Linked DNA regions of Homo sapiens: region 1 is linked to region 2. The links are contacts of gene promoters, found by promoter capture Hi-C in blood cells and fetal thymus (Javierre and others, 2016). All regions are on one chromosome and are shown on one strand. Each heading gives the region's core, a stretch centred on a gene start or on the middle of the fragment in contact. The rest is flanking DNA. Distances are from core to core; before and after follow the strand shown. Region 1 has its middle 10 kb from the start of C2orf81. Region 2 holds the start of ACTG2 (actin gamma 2, smooth muscle).

Region 1 (5,573 bases), core at 3,074-5,573, 520 kb after region 2:
AAAGATGATAGTTGGAGTGGAATAAAATGCTGGTTTGGGGCACATTGGGAGTACTTTATGGCCAGGACATGTTGGCAGGAGATGCGAAAGGTTGGGAGGTGGTGCTGGGAGTGGAGTAAGGGGTGTCAGAGGCAGTTACCTCTTCCTTGAAGTCTCTGGGCAAGCTCTCCAGTGAATGAAGTCAATAGCAGTTTGCTGCAGTCATAGTTTTGGTTAAAGGTCAAAGGGCCTCCAGCCTGTCAGGTGCCCCTCATCAATGTACCCATGTGCATGCCGAACGGAAGACACATTCACCACTGGGGCTGACCCTGCCTGTCGTAGGGCCCCTGGGTAGAGATGGGAGGGACCACACTGCTTCAATCCAAGTTCTAGAGTAAACTCCCATGCTCACTCCCCAACCTGCTTCTCCAGAAGATAGGAGAGCAGGGCTCTCTAAGAAGGGGCAGTGGGGTCCCTATCCAGAAACCTGGGCTAGGCATAGGAGAGCTTAATGTTAGCTGGGACCTCATTTTCATTATTAGCTGCCTTCCTAATGATCTTCTTCTTCTTTCATATTAGTGTTTGGAGTTTTGCCTTTCTTTTCTTCTACTTGCTAGTTGGAGCTACCTTAATTGATCCTCATTTATATGTTTTATTTCACTGATGGCTAAGAAGGGGAAGGAGAAGCTGGAAACACTGTGAAAGTTGCTTTCATGTATTCATACATTCATTCCTTCATTTATCCATCCCACAAATGTTCATTAGGCACCTGGAATATGGCAGACACTAAGCTAGGTGCTAAGGACATAACGGTGCTAGGTTTGGGGGAAAAGAAATATGTGTGCAGAGATACTTGAGAAAATGTTTTTAAAGAAACAAAGCTAGGGAAGGTCATCACTGGAAAACTATTAACAAGCTTAATATTTAAAAAAAAAAAAACCAACTATGTTTCAAACAAAAACAAAATTAAAATCCTAAAGTTAAATCTTAAAAAAAATGTTTAAAATAGTACATAAGTGTTTTAGTCTGTTCTCACACCACTATTAAGATGCTACCTGAGACTGGGTAATTTATAAACAAAAGTGGTTTAATTGACTCACAACTCTGCATGGCTGGGGAGACCTCGGGAAACTTATAATCATGGTGGAAGACAAAGGGGAAGCAAGGCATGTCTTACGTGGTGGCAGAAGAGACAGAGAGCAGGCAGGGGAAAACTGCCACTTTTTATTTATTTTTTATTTTTTATTTTTTTTGAGTCGGAGTCTTGCTCTGTCGCCCAGGCTGGAGTGCAGTGGCGCGATCTCGGCTCACTGCAAGCTCCGCCTCCTGGGTTCACGCCATTCTCCTGCCTCAGCCTCCCGAGTAGCTGGGACTACAAGCGCCCGCCACCACGCCTGGCTAATTTTTTTTTTTGTATTTTTAGTAGAAACGGGGTTTCACCGTGTTAGCCAGGATGGTCTCCATCTCCTGACCTCGTGATCCACCCACCTCGGCCTCCCAAAGTGCTGGGATTACAGGCGTGAGCCACCGCACCAGGTCAAAACTGCCACTTTTAAAACCATCAAATCTTGTGAGATCTCTCTCAATATCACAAGAACAGCACGGGGGAACTGCCCCCATGACCCAATCACTTCCCACCAGGTCCCTCCCTCTACATATGGGGATTACAGCTGGAGATGAGATTTGGGTGGGGACACAGAGCCAAACCATATCAATAAGTATACAAAAAAGTCTGGATTGGCTGGGTGTGGTGGCTGATGCCTGTAATCCCAGCACTTTGGGAGGCCAAGGCGAGAGTTTGAGGCCAAGGTGGGAGGCCTGAGGTCAGGAGTTTGAGACCAGCCTGCCCAACATGGCAAAACCCCGTATCTAGCAAAAATACAAAAAATTAGCCAGGCATGGTGTTGGGCACCTGTAATCCCAGCTACTCGGGAGGGTGAAGCAGGAGAATCGCTTGAACCCAAGAGGCGGAGGTTGCAGTGAGCCGAGATCGCGCCACTGTACTCCAACCTGGTAAACAAGAGCGAAACTCCGTCTCCAAAAAAAAAAAAAAAAAAAAAAAAGTCTGGATTATGTAAAGTATAAAAAATAGTTGTTGTCACATATGAGTTTACAGTATTGTTTTTAAAATGCTAAAACTATTTTGAAATTAAGACTCACTCAGTGGGAGGCCAGCCTGCTGCATGGACTGCTTCCAGCACTGCTCCTTCTCTCCCCAGAAAAAAAAATTAATACAAAATAAAATTTAAAAATTACAAATTACAAATGAGAAACTGAGCAGGTGGTATTTAGCCAAAATTTGCTGGAAAGAAAATTATTCTTAAAGAAGACAATGGACTTTAAATTTGCAGACAGTGACATAGAGACCAAAAGTGTTCTCTGCTCAGTTGGAGAGACTGATCCTCACAGAGCAACATCAGTGCAGTCACAGAGATATGTACAAGGGGGCTAATGGAGCCCCATAAATAGGGGTGACTGGGGGAGGTGAAGGTTGGGGAAAGATCCACAGCAGAGGTGATATCTGTGCTGCGTCTTGGCAGGTGAACTAAAGTTAGCCAGGCCAACATGATGAGAAAGGATATTCCAGATAGAAGGAACCGTATGTGCAAAAACACAGCCAGAGGGTGAAAAAAAACAGACCGTGGTCCAAGAGCTGCAGATTGTCTGGCTGGAGACTAGGAGGTGGGTTAAGGAAGGGCAAAAGGCAAGGCTCTTAGTCAGCAGAGGGTTTTTTTTTTTTTTTTGAGACAGAGTTTCACTCTTGTTGCCCAGGCTGGAGTGCAATGGCGCGGTCTTGGCTCACTGAAACCTCCACCTCTCGGGTTCAAGCAATTCTCCTGCCTCAGCCTCCCGAGTAGCTAGGATTACAGGCATGCACCACCACGCCCAGCTAATTTTGTATTTTTAGTAGAGACGGGGTTTCTCCATGTTGATCAGGCCGGTCTCAAACTCCCAACCTCAGGTGATTTGCCCACCTCAGCCTCTCAAAGTGCTGGGATTACAGGCATGAGCTACTGCACCCAGCCTAGCACACAGCCTTCTAAGTGTAGAGAAGGGGCTTAGAGTTCATCCTACAAAGGAGAGGTTACCTTCAAAGGATTTTAAGCAAGAAAGTGTCATGATGAAAGGTGATTACTCGATGTGGCAGTGGGGAGAATAGATTAGAGAAGATGAGACAGGAAAGAAGTTTAAGAAACTGTCACTAAGCAAGATGCAGATAGTGTCGTGACATGTTACAATTTGTGGAAAGGGACAAAAACAATCATACTTGCAGGTGCATAGAGTTTTGCCTTTGTTCACTTTCCAATTGGGATTAATTTAGTTGACTGCTAAAGGATACGTGAGACTCCGGCAACAGTAGTTGCCTCTCAGGAGGGGAACAGGTGGCTTATGTACCAGAAGAGAAAAATAGTTTAAAAAAAAAAACCCTCTGTATCCTTTTGTACACTTTCAATTTTGTACTTTGGATATGTATTACCTGACCAAAAGAAAAATTGCTTTTCTTTTAAGGAGGCTATCACATTGCAAGGGGATGAGTAATTAAAAAATAATAATAATAATAAAGGGGCTATTATACAATCTAGGAGAAAATGTCAGAGAGAATGTTCCTGCCACCCACTCCCCGAAACTTTCCCTGGAGGAGCCAAACTTTCTCAATCAGAAAGGGCCTCTTCAAAGGACTTAGGCCCAAGGCAGTAATGTATCAACTGTATCATCTGTATGGCCTACACCTCTGGCCGACCCTGAGAACAGAAACTGAGTCTTCTTGCTTTCTCTGTTTCTGGTGCCTAGTGTCCCCCTCAAGAAGCCTTCATTGCAAAAACTACTCTACTGGTCTGGCTAGAACTAGGGGATGGGAGAAGGAGGTCTGGGATCTCATATCCCCTTGCTGATTATATTTTGGGCTGAATGATTCTTCTATCAGCCTTCTAATACTGACTTGTGCCAGCTGGGCTTCCCTGATGTGTGACACAAAAAGTGTGTTGGGTCACCACTCAGCAAACAGCTGGGTGCCAAGAGGCAAGAGGTGGTCCTGGGAGACAGTTACTAGAATGCCAGGGGTATAGGGAAGAGGGCAGCACAGAAGGTGCCCATCCTTCCTTACCTTGGAGTAGATTTGTGAGCAGAAAGGGCCCAACATAGTTAGTGACAAAGGTGAGATCCAGGCCCCCTGGGGTAAGTGTCTTCGGAATCCTGGGAGGAAATGAAAACACTGGCATTGAGTGATAAAGGGACCACCTTGAGGGAGACAAGGTCTGGGAGGGACATATTACCTTCAGCAGAAATGCCACAGGGGCACATACATGTGAAGATGGGGGCAATGAAGTTTAAGGCTATAACTCAATGTCAGCTTTTTAGGGGAGGGTATGGATTAGTGTTTTGGCAAGATTGCATAGACTAGGCTTTGAGGATACCTGTTTTAGAGTTCCTGAGCTAGAAAGGAGACTGCAGAAACATGTTTGGAGAAGCAAGCCAGGCACATACCACTGACTCCAGCATTGTTTACCAGCAGATGTATCTCAGGATTCTCCTGTAGAAGCCTCCGGGCAAAGCTCCGAATAGAGGTCATGGAGCTAAGGTCCACCTCGCCAAGCAGGAGGCGGTTGCTGTTTGAGGCTGCTTGGATCTCAGCCAGGGCTTGCTGTCCACATTCCCTGCTCTGACAAGTAAGGATCACTTGGGCCCCACACCGAGCTAGGTCCTGGGATACAACCTTCCCGATGCCTGTGGGAGGACAACTTCGGCTGGGTGGTGACTACAGTGAACAAGGGACACTCTAGGGGAGGGACAAGGGTGTTGATAGTGGATGCTCCTCCCTGCCTTCCCTGTGAGAGTTGTTGGAGGCTGAGGCCCATAGTGAGGATTCAGGGTGGGAGGAGCACTCACCACTGTTGGCCCCAGTCACTATGGCTATTTTCCCAGTCAGATCTGTGGAGCAGCACTGGAGGTCCCAGGGATGAGACTTCTGCCAGAGCTGCACATGTAGTTGAAGAAGACCAGAATAAGGAAGACAGAGCCAGCGCCCCAGACCAGGATGCTGAGTGCAGCCCACAGCAACATAGCAGAAACTTCCTGGGCCTGCTGGGGAAATGCTGTAGGAGGAAGTGGGTGCAGGATAAATCTGGGCAGAGTGGAGACTAGCAATGAGGCAGGTGTGGAGCCTAAGATAAAATTTAAGGAGGCACTGACTCTTGAGTTTGTTCAATATACTGTTTGAGTTTGAGAGTTCCTCCTTAACTTCAAAAGTGAAATTTGGATTTGCAGTCTAAGGTGAAGTGACCAAGCTCCAGGGACCAGGGAAGCAAGAAATCAAGTTCTTCATATCTCGAATCACTCTGTGCTTATGCGGGGCCTTCTCCTTCCTCCCCTACTGAAAGGAGACTCGAAGTTCTCTCTACAGAGCCAGACCCGCTGGCAGCCCTTATGTCTACTCCTTTGGGGGACAGGGGTTTCTCTAGAATGCCTCTGCAATGGGGCAGCTTTGGCCCTAATGCAGGGTCTCCTAAGGGTGGCGAGAGGGTTATTTCCTGAACCCTGGTTCTATCTTCTTCTAGGCCTGCAGGATAACTGCTCCCCTTGGGGTTCAGTGAGAG
Region 2 (5,491 bases), core at 1,944-4,443:
ACATGTGCACAAAGGCACATATACAAAGTTTTATTAATGTTAGCAATGTTTGCATGAGTAAAAATGCTGGAAATGACCCAAGAGCCCATCAATAGGATATTGGTCAAATAATTTATGGTATATCCCTACTATGGAAAACGATGCTAGAGTTTAAAAAATTATATAAACTGATTTTGAAAGACATCCAAGAGTATTATTAAGAGAACATGACAAGTTTCAGAACAATTGTAAAAACATATGCAATGACATAATCCCATTTTTGTAAAATAATGTTAAAATGTTAGAAAAAAATCTGGAAAAAATATTTTTAAAATAGGTATCCTATTGCCCTTAACAGTGGCCTTCTCTGACTTAGGTCTAAGTGGGATTATAGCGAACATTTGCTTTCTAAAACACACATTTTTGTATTTTTTGAAATTTTTGATTGAATTTTTGAAACCAGAAAAAAATGTTAAATATAAACAAATCGAGTACCTGGTGTAACCTCCCTCACCTTCTGATCTCTCCCTAAACATTTCCTCAGAGCTTCAGTTTATTCAGTTAGTCCCTGCTTTCTCGTCTCTGGGCTGTTTGGAGCCTAGATCACAACCAGTGCCTTTGTTATAGGCTTTTCATTGTTTATCGACTGGCTGTGCCAACTAAGAGGGGAATGTCCATAGGGCAAGGTGCCCCCATCTGCACGCTGACCACGGTGCTGAGTGATTAGAAGAAAGCTCACTCTGTGAAACAACCCTTACTCTGAGAAGGGAAAGGATGACCCCTCTAAACCCATGATCAGGTCAAGGGTGATTGGCACCCTGTCCCTGCCCTGGCCTCATTCCCACACAAGAAGAGAGAATCAGAGGGGGAGCTTATGACCCTGTCACTTAGCGTTGAGCTACCTGCCTCGGCCAGTTGGGACTGCGAGCACTCTGTCCATGCTGGGACAGCTCACACCTCATCCACTGCCACCTTCTATGCAGCACAGCTCCGGAAAGGGAGCCCTCTTCCCTCCAGAATCCCCAGTGAGGGTTTTCTAGGAACTTGAAAAGCTCAGGAAGCTTTCCACAGGCCTGGAATTTAGACTTAGGCACTAAACACGCAGGCCAGTGATCAAATGATGAGTAAGTGAACCTCACAATGACAACAGTGTTCCTTCTCCACAGGGAACAACTGCAGGTCCTCAAGGAAAGTGTTTTTAAATCTTTCCTCTGGGCTGTCTCAGCAGAGGACACTCCTCATTCACACCATCTCCTGCCTCAATTTTCAGTTAATGAGGAAGCCAGACCTGTACCAAGCCATTGCACCAGGTGACCCAAAACCACCTGGAACTCCCTGTGCGTTTAGCAGGGATGCAATGCATGCTTCTTCTATTGAAGCGGGGGTATCCTGGGCACCGGGTGGGGAAAGTTTAAGAAACACAGATGGCTGAGGCCTATTCACTGAGTTTCTGTTTCAATAGGGCTAGGTGACACCTGAGAATCTGCATTGTGAGCACATTCCCATATCATGCTGCTGCTGCACTCTGGTGGTCCCCATGCTTTGGGAACCTCTGTGTTGAAGACGAAGCAGAGTCAGGAAGGCCAGTCAGGAAGCTGCGCCCCACTCCAGGCCAGATAGGACTGGAGCCTGAGGCAGCGCAGGCCAGCAGGGATTGAGGGAGGACACAGAGCTGAGGGGCATTTCTGGTCGGGGGAGCACCAGGCTGTGGTGCCCAGGTGGTTGTGGGAGCATGAGGGAGACACAGGGTTCTAGACTGACTGACTTCTAGCTTGAAGGGCCGAGGGGTGGACTTGGAAGTTGGCAACCCAGGAGGCACAGCAGCTTTGAGGGTAGGGAAGAAGGGTTCAGTTTTAGACAGGATGAGTTTGAAGAGCTGGAGAGTCATCTGGATTGGGATGTCCAATAGGCAATTGATCATTTTAGTCTGGATCAGGGTGAGGGAGGGGGACCATGAGAATGTGGAGTTGAAAGTAATACTGCAGAGCTGGTAGCTGATAATGTGGGAAATGAACCAGCTACCTAGGGATAGTACATGAATTACACAAAGAAGAGCAATCATCAGCCAGCCATGGTGGCTCACACCTGTAATCCCAGCACTTTGGGAGACCAAGGTGGAGGGATTGCTTGAATCCAGGAGTTCAAGATCGAGACCCTGTCTAATTAAAAACAAAACAAACAAACAAAAAGAAGTCCAGGCGTAGTGGCTCACACCTGTAGGCCAAGGCAGGTGGATCACGAGGTCAGGAGCTCGAGACCAGCCTGGCCAACATGGTGAAACCCTGTCTCTACTAAAAATACAAAAATTAGCTGGGCATGGTGGCAGGTGCCTGTAATCTCAGCTACTCAGGAGGCTAAGGCAGGAGAATTGTTTGAACCTGGGAGGCGGAGGTTGCAGTGAGCCGAGATTGCACCAATGCACTCCAGCCTGGGGGATAGGGCGAGACTCTATCTCAAAAAAGAAAAAGAAGCAGCTCAAGAATCACAGGACTGTGGAAAATCCTACAGGCCAAGAGTCTTGTTAGGTGTGCCTCAACCCTGAAGCAGGTCCCTCAGTCTGCAGATATTTAGAGATATTTAAAGGAAAACCAGGAAGGAGCCAAGAGAGAATGAAGCCTAAGGTGTCCTGAGACCCTCAGAGAACTCAGCCCAAGGGTTAGGAGCTTGTGTCAAGGTGCAGCAGGTGAGTAGGGCACGCAGGATTTCTTTCCTGGGTACGGAAGGCATTTCTCTTCAGCTTTCATTGGTCCCAGGCTCGTGCCAGACAAGGCATGATTGCACCCATTTTGGGGACAGTGCCTGGGCGTCCCAGGCAGACCCAGGGGCCGCATGCAGCAGGGCCTGAGGAGGGAGGTGTGGACGGAGGAGGCCCGCTGCCATTCTTGGTATGGTTCTCACTCCAGGAGCACAGCTGCATCTGGTCTCACTCTGGGCAGCTTATAAGGCCTGGTGTGAGTTTTGTTTATGCAAGTGCAGCATAAAAGGAACAAATCTACCAGCACCGGGGCTGTTGCCACTGAGTCCTTTTGCATACATTTTTCAAATGATAACTCACTCTACCCACCCCCCTTCCCTACCCCCAAGGCGATTTATTGAAAAAACCACCTTATATGGTAATATTGCTAACACACCGTCAGCTGGCCTTTTTAGGGACTTTGTTTAAAGAAGATCCGCCTCTGGGGTTTTATATTGCTCTGGTATTCATGCCAAAGACACACCAGCCCTCAGTCACTGGGAGAAGAACCTCTCATACCCTCGGTAAGTACTGTACGGCTTTTGCCACCTCTTCCTTTCCGGGGCTGCCTGGCCTCCTGGGTGCGGGAGGTGCCTCCAGATTGGCCTGGCTTCTGTGACGCTGGCCCAGATCACACACCAGAGCCCTTGGTGGGCAGCGGCACCTGCAAGCATACTGCAGCCTGCTGAGAAAAGGCGTATCTGGCCATGGGACATCCTGGGGCAGGGGCAGCTTGGAACCGTGCTCCCTGCCTCAGAATGGGGACTGGCGGGATATAATGCCTGCAGTCTCTACTAGCCCTGCTCCCCAGGGCCAGTGCAGATCCACACCCTGATGTCCTTTGTCTTGGGTTAGAATGTCTGGGAGGCTGTTTTAGGGGATCATATACTTTGCAGAAAAGCAGCTTTTCAGAATACTTGAGTCAAAGCCAACAGTGGTCCTGGTGTCTGTGAGCTGTTTAGTCCATGAAATGTCTGTGCTGGGAATGGGAGGGTATTTTCTTCAGGTCCCCTGTGGGTCTCTCTGTCCTCTGATCTGTGCTTGGCTGAGGAGAATGGAGGGTTTCTGCAGTCCTTGAAGGCTCTAGGATCATTGGGGGATGGAGAAAATTCCACTTGCCCTGTGGCATCGTGAGGTTTCAGGGTAGAAGGAACTTGGGACCCATCTAGTTCATTCTCCTCTGATGAGGACATTGAGGCCTAGAGACGTACAGCCACTCATCCAAAAGACTCACACCCAACTGTGACCCATTTGCAGATGTCATTACTCCCCCCAACCCACCCAACACACACACAACACATGCACAAAGAATTAAGAGGAAGATGAGATGAAGGGGCCACTTCTATGTTTGGCATCAGAATTCACTAGCATCTCTTCACAGGTGAGGCAGGCTGGGTGTGGCAGTGCAGGCCTTGAAGGCAGACTGTCAGGCTAACCAAGTTACTGAGCGACCTCAGCTTCCTCACCTGTAAAATGGGGGCAAGAATAATAATATCTACTTGGCGATGGTGTGAGGATTAAACGAGAGAATGCGTATATACAGCACTCAGCTCAAGGCTGTCAGGGCCCGGCCCTGAGTTCTCAAACTTTAAGAATCACCTGGAGTGCTTGTTAAAACACAGATTGCCCCATGCCCCACCCCAGATTCTGATTCCAGTAGGCCGAGATATGGCCTGATACTTGGAATTCCTAACAAGCTCCCAGGCGACACTGAAGCTGCTGGTCTGGGACCACACTTTGTACAGGGAGGCTCTAAGTGCTCACTTTGATTACTTGAATGTGGGTTTGGACTCTGATACTAACCCTTGGGCTGAAAAGAGGAAGAGCTTCCTGTGACAGAGAGGGATGGGTGCTGGAGAAACTGCAATGAACAGTAAGATCCTACATGCCAGGCCTGAGAAAAGGGGATGGGCCGTGTGACATCATGACCTTGGGGCGAGATATCTTTCCTCTTTCCCCTTGTTCATTCTGCCAACATTTATTGAGCACTTATTATGGGCCAGGCACTGTCTCTGCTCCTTAGGGACAGTGGAGAGGCTTCTGCAGTTACTGGAAGAGACAGATAAACAGATGAGAACCATGGAGCAAATAAGTACACGAAAGGGGTAAAGGCCAGGAGGAGCCCATCACTCAACCCAGGAGTTATCAGGGAAGACTTCCTGGAGGAAGAGGTGCCTGAGCTTGGTCCTGAAGTAAGGACCAAGCTTGGTCCTTCCTGGTAAAGAGGAAGCATGGTCTTTGGGACTCAAGTGGCTCAATTCCACTGAATTTAGATAGCAAGGCAGGAATCAGGTAAAACTAAATTCAGAGGGGTCCGCAGGGCTGGATTACAAGGGCTTTAGACTCTAAAGGATCAGGCTATGGGGAGCCATGGAAGGGTTTTAATCTGGAGGGTATCTGTTGAAGGGGCTGCTTTGGCAGCTGTGAGGAGAGTGGACTGGAACAGGGCAAGAGCGCTACTGCAGCATGCGGTGGTCCTGAGCTGGTGGCATGGGTGCCGTGCAGGTAGAAGTAAGAAGGGCTGGTGATAGGTTGGGAGGGAAGAGGGCGGCACCAGGGCATTGGGCATGGGCTCAGGGTGGGTGGTGTGAGTCTGTGAGGGCAGCTCCGGGCAGAGGCTGCTGATGAGGAGAGCAGTCCTGGAGGTGTGGAGTTGGGGTGCCAGGGGGGTTTTGGTGGGGGAGATGCACGGCAGGCTCTGCAGGCCTAGAGCTCAAGAGAGGGGTCTGGACAGGAGCAGAGCCAGGGGAGTGAATGGAAGTCCGGGTAAGAGCCAGA

What was found. The method cuts DNA at HindIII sites, captures the fragments that hold promoters and counts their contacts. A CHiCAGO score of 5 or more calls a contact.
Region 1: a contact is called between a fragment that was not itself captured here and the fragment with the promoter of ACTG2 in region 2, in 2 of 17 cell types (erythroblasts and activated CD4 T cells). The highest score is 6.8, in erythroblasts.

What each region holds. Positions count from the first base shown.
Region 1 is chr2:74,408,564-74,414,136 of GRCh38, forward strand. No RefSeq gene overlaps it. Among named protein-coding and RNA genes, the nearest start is that of C2orf81, 10 kb to the right of the region's middle. The HindIII fragment of the contact is 6,860 bases long and covers 894-5,573 here.
Region 2 is chr2:73,889,815-73,895,305 of GRCh38, forward strand. It overlaps ACTG2 (actin gamma 2, smooth muscle), which reads left to right and starts at 3,194. Exons shown (of 9, transcript NM_001615.4): 1 at 3,194-3,237. RefSeq lists an enhancer at 2,270-3,083. The HindIII fragment of the contact is 3,877 bases long and covers 1,039-4,915 here.